2 separate regions of the Homo sapiens genome follow, and region 2 is linked to region 1. Evidence: promoter capture Hi-C in human tissues and cell types (Jung and others, 2019). All regions are on one chromosome and are shown on one strand. The core of a region is centred on a gene start or on the middle of the fragment in contact, and the rest is flanking DNA. Distances in the headings are between cores, read along the strand shown. Region 1 holds the start of CLCN7 (chloride voltage-gated channel 7). Region 2 overlaps IFT140 (intraflagellar transport 140).

Region 1 (2,621 bases), core at 68-2,567:
GGACTAGACAAGAGAAAATGTAAAGAATAACTGCAAAGCAGATTAAGACCCATCAACAAAACGGTCCATTAACTCAAAAGTAACACAATACGGCCAGGCGCAGTGGCTCACGCCTGTAATCCCAGCACTTTGGGAGGCTGAGGTGCGGGGGATCACGTGAGGTCGGGAGTTCGAGGCCAGCCTGACCAACACGGAGGAACCCCGTCTCTACTAAAAATACAAAATTAGCCGGGCGCGGTGGCGCACGCCTGTAATTCCAGCTACTCAGGAGGCTGAGGCAGGAGAGTCACTTAAACTCGGGAGGTGGGGGTTGCAGTGAGCCGAGATCGCGCCATTGCACTCCAGCCTGGGCAACTACAGTGAAACTCCGTCTCAAAAAAAAAAAAATATTAAGACAATACACAGACAGGGAAACAAATGTACCCGCAACGGTTCTCCAGACCTTAACACTGCTCAGACGCACGCTGCAGGGTGACATGCGGAACGCATTCCAACCTCTGACTTGCTGCTTATTGTGTTTGCCTGCACATTGCAAATTCAACTCGGTGCGAAGGGAGACTGAGTACAAATACTCGTCACTCCCAAGATCACCTGAAAGTCGGGACTGATCCCCACACAGAAAGATGGCAGATAAAGGCGCTCAGTCATTCTCACTGAAAGACAGTGACCCGGCTGCAATCTTAACTGTTTCCATCTCCCAGGGGGTCAAAAACGCAAACAAAATTAGTTGCTCGTGTAGGATGACAATTTTTAAAAGTCACCTGAACAGAAAGCCACTTGCACCCCTTTAGGGCCAGTCTGGGGGACACCGGAGGGAATGAACGTGCGCCACGGCTGCCCCGGCGCCCCTCAGCGCCCCACATTCCGCGGGGTCTGGCGAGCTCCGCCTCGCCCACGCAGCCCTCCCGGCCACCGAGCCCGGCGCGGCCTCCGAAGACTCCAGACCCCAGGCGCCCCCGCCAGCCCGGCCCCGCCGAGGAGCCCCGGGGCGCGTTCCCGAGTCCACCGCGCCTCGGTCGCCTCCAGGACCGAGACACGCGGCGCCGCCAGAAGGCTCACGAGGGCGCGGGCTGCGGGGCGCACGAGGGCTCAGTTTCCCCGCCTGCGCCCTGCCCGGCCTCACCTGGCGCGCAGCCCCAGGCCCAGCCCCGTTCAGCAGCGGCGTCCCCCCGCCGGGCCGCGCCGTCCTCCGCAGCAGCGGCGCCGCCTCCTCGTCGTCCCGGTCCCGGCCGGACCAGGACACCTTCTTAGAGACGTTGGCCATGGCCCGCCGCGGAGCGACACCGGCCGGGAAGCGCCGGCTGCCCCCGTGTTTGTTCTCGTGACCCGCGCCGGCGGCCACGTGACGCGCGACGGGGCCACGTGATGAGCGACGGCGACCATGTGACCTGCAACGGCAACCACCGAGGCCCGGTCGCGCGGGGGCTCCTGGGAGCCGCGCTCCCGGCGGGTCGTGGCGCCGCCCGCCCTAGAGAATCGCCGCGGCCCTGAGGACCCCGTTCTGCCCACGCGACTGCAAAGGCGGCCCCGTTGGGCTGAGCGCCGAGTGCTTGGGAGGCGAATGGCCGCCCCCGGGACCTCGGGCCCGGGAGTCGGGGCGAGGGAAGCGCCCGGGGCCTGAGGGCAGGAGCCGGCTGGAGGGGCTCCCCCAGGCCCGGTCGCCCGCGCCGATCGTGACGGAGCCGCGGTGGGGAAGGGAGGAGGGAGGCAGGGGCGAGGGCAGGCCTTTCCTTGCCATAGGCGGCGGCTAAAGACGTGAAGGATGAAATTAGAAGTCCCGAAGCATGCATCCGCCCTCGCAGTAGGCACTCGGGCGAGGGTCGGAGTGGAGGCTTCCTCCAGGCAGCCCCAGAGGGTCCTCCCGCCTAATGAGAAAAGAACAGAAGGCGAGTCCTCTTCAACGATCAGGCCCCAGAGACAGTACAGGAGGGTCGCCTCTGGAAACTGCCGGCTACTACGCAGATAGCTGTGAATTAGCCAAATAGCCGCCCGGACCCTGTACCCGCACCAGGGCACAGCCCATCACTAATCAATGGTATTTCCATAAACCAAAGAGAATTCTTGACAGCTTTACATCAGCCCCCACCCTGTCCCCACCTTCTGGGTCATTTATTTATTTATTTTGAGACAGGGTCTCCTTCTGTCGCCCAGGCTGGAGTGCGGTGGTGCGGTCACAGCTCAGTGCAGCCTTGACCTCCTGGACTCAAGCCATCCTCCCGCCTCAGCCTCTGGAGTAACAGGGACCACAGGCCTGCACCACCACACCCGGCTAATTTTTGCTGTGGAGCTCACAGTGTGTTGCCCAGGCTGTTCTCAAACTTCTGACCTCAAGTGATCCTTCCACGTTAGCCTCTAGAGTAAACTCTTTATATTTTGTGCCTCATCCTCTTCCTTTTAAAAGGTCGATATTTTTATTATTGAGACGGAGTCTCACTCTGTCGCCCAGGTTGGAGTGCAGTGGCCCAATCTCGGCTCACTGCCTCCCGGGTTCATGCCTCAGCCTCCCGAGTAGCCGGGACTACAGGCGCCCGTCACCATGGCCGGCTAATTTTTTGTATTTTTAGTACAGATGGGGTTTCACTGTGTTAGCCAGGATGGTCTCGATCTCCTGACCTCGTGAT
Region 2 (2,621 bases), core at 122-2,621, 44 kb after region 1:
AAAGTAAGTCTGTCGCTTTCCTGCGACACTGCTAGTAACAGCCAGTAACAGCGTGAGACTGTTACTTTTTGCTACCGACAGATTTTTTTTTTCTTTTGAGACAGGGTCTCGCTCTGTCACCCAGGCTGGAGTGCAGTGGCGCCATCAGATCTCACTGCAGCCTCAACCTCCTGGGCTCAAGGGATCCTCCCACCTCAGCCTCCCAAGCAGCTGGGACCCCAGGTGTGAGCCACCATGCCTGGCTAATTTTTCCCCTTTTTGTAGAGATGGGGTTTCACCATGTCGCCCAGGCTGCTCTTGAACTCCTGGGCTCAAGTCATTCTCCTGCCTCAGCCTCCCAAAGTGCTGGGATTACAGGAGTGAGCCGCCACACACAGCCTCAGTTTGAGCCGTTAAGCCTTCGTTTCAGGAGCCTTGTGTGGCGGGATGCTGCTAGTGAGCAGCACTCAGGCCTCACCGTCTGGTATTCCTCCTTCCGCACGTAGTGCTCCACCAGGAAGCCATAGACGTCCCCGATGCGGATGGTGCTGTCCAGGTCTGGTTCCTCCAGGAGCAGCTCACACTGCTTGATGGACTCCTTGGGGTCCTCTGTGTACGTCCTGCCGAGAGCAGAGATGAGGCCTGGGCCCCGAAGCCCTGAACACCTACTGCTATCAGAGGTCAGAGGAGACTCTTGGCCTGTAAGAGGAGCTCTCCGGAATGGCAGGAGGAAACTTTCTATGAAGTTAAATTCATTAATTCCTTAATTTGTTCATTCATAAATTAACTCATCCATGTAACATTCTTACTGATCACTTGAATGCTGGGTCCTATGCTTGGACTGAAGACCAAAGACTTCCGACCCCTAGTTCCTGCTCTATGGAACAGTCCAGAGGGGGCTAGAAACCTCTGCACAAAGCGTGACCCAGAGGGGATGTGGTGCATGTGGACAGGGTACACGGAGAGGCGCACGGCACCCCTTGCCCAAGGCCGCTGGGAAGAACCCTCCAAGCAGAGAGGCTGCCCGCACACAGGCTGCGTGTGTGACCTGGCGTGAGGGTCTGTGGCAGAGCAGGGTGTGTGGCCTGTGAGCTGGGGTGACACCAGGGAGGTGAGCCTGCTGGAACACAACATGGTCCAGGGCAGGTGACTGGAGCCGTGTGGAGCTCAGGCTCCCATGTCAGGAGGGTCCAGGGCCCATCTGGCCACCCACTGACTCGGCCATTCCAGACAGGCGCCTGGCCTGCCCTCTGACCCCTGGCCCATAGAAGGTTGCCCACCCTGGCCCTCACACGTCGTCTCCCCTCCACCCACGTCCTGTGCTATCCCTGATGACCAGCTGCTATCGATTCTCCTCCGCTCCTGCCCTGTGGCCTCAGCTCAGCAGACATCTGTGAGACGCTGATACCCCAGAATCGACACGTGCAGGTGGACCGTGCCCTTCCAAGGGGCACCGCTTTGTACGACCTTGTTCAAAGGACTTCTGGAACTCTTGTTTTGGAAAAGGTTCTCCGATAAGGAAAACAGCCCTGCCAGCTGAGACAGAAGCTGGGCCCTGAAGCGCACAGGCGAGTGCCCACCGTGGTGGCCACACAGCAGCTCTCTGAAAAGCTGAGTCACCTGCCCATAATAAAGATGGGGAGGTGTTCAAATAAACTTAGCATCTTGGCCTCTCCTGAAAACCGAGACCATCGGCTGGCTGCCTGGGTCTCCTCTCCACAAGCTTGGAGCTGGTGGCAGTTGACCTGTGGAGAGGCATGAGCCCTCTGGTCACCATGGTCCCCCAACCCCAGGTCACACAGCGGCACTCACTCAGGACTCCCCTGCCCGGCCCCTGCACACCCTCAGCAGGTCTGTGGCTCCCCAGACACACCCTCTCCTGCTCCACATCTGCCTCCTCCTCCCACTCCCCCACCAGGTTTCTCTCTCAGCGTCTCTGGTGTTTCCAGAACACCTTCCCAAGGCTGTGCCCGGGCTCTGAGGGCTCCCAGGAGGAGGTGGGGTGTGTCTTCAGCAGTAGTGCTGTCCCAAGTGAGCTCCCATCTGCTGTCCTGCCCTTTTGCTGGCTGGGGTTTCTCGTGGTCAGCCCCGGCCCTGTAGTCACATCTGCCCTGGCCTGTCCCCGCTGGCCCCGGGGGCACACCTGCGGGCCTGGATGAACCTCTTCACCAGTGCCATCCTGCTCTGCAGCTGCGCCAGCCTGGTCTCCTGGTCCAGGGGGCTCTTGGCCTTGGCCTTGGCCAGGCACTTGTAGGCCTCGGTCAGCGCCCCGTGGGCTTTGTCGTAGTTCTGGTATTCATCAATCTCCACCTGTACAGATGAAACCCGTCAAGACCTGCCGGGCTCCACAGCCCTCCCCGGGGCCCCGCTGGCATGCCAGGGAGGGCCTGCACCTGGGCACAAGCGTCATAAAAGCCAGCCAGGAGGTCCAGGGCCCGCCCCTTGGTGTAGAAGCCGATGATGTTCTTCATGATCTCCGGCTCCTTCCGCCAGTCCAGGGACTGCAGGTAGTTAGCAGCCATGATGTAGATTTCCTTCTGCCTGGACACGCTCGCGAAGAACGTGATTTTCTCCGTGTCTCCGGATTTGAGCAGCGCCCTCATGGCCTAGGCAGAGAGACAGCGGGGCTCAGGCAAGCAGGG

The links. The method cuts DNA at HindIII sites, captures the fragments that hold promoters and counts their contacts. A contact is called where the count stands out against the background at its distance.
Region 2: a contact is called between a fragment that was not itself captured here and the fragment with the promoter of CLCN7 in region 1, in 1 of the 25 tissues and cell types used here (pancreas).

Annotation. Positions count from the first base shown.
Region 1 is chr16:1,473,711-1,476,331 of GRCh38, forward strand. CLCN7 (chloride voltage-gated channel 7) reads right to left here and starts at 1,318. Exons shown (of 25, transcript NM_001287.6): 1 at 1,124-1,318. The coding sequence starts at 1,264. RefSeq lists silencers at 1,061-1,270, 1,391-1,740 and an enhancer at 1,278-1,821. The HindIII fragment of the contact is 17,994 bases long and covers 1-2,621 here.
Region 2 is chr16:1,517,759-1,520,379 of GRCh38, forward strand. It overlaps IFT140 (intraflagellar transport 140), which reads right to left. Exons shown (of 31, transcript NM_014714.4): 28 at 2,373-2,585; 29 at 2,123-2,289; 30 at 458-599. Among named protein-coding and RNA genes, the nearest start is that of TMEM204, 15 kb to the right of the region's middle. The HindIII fragment of the contact is 6,941 bases long and covers 1-2,621 here.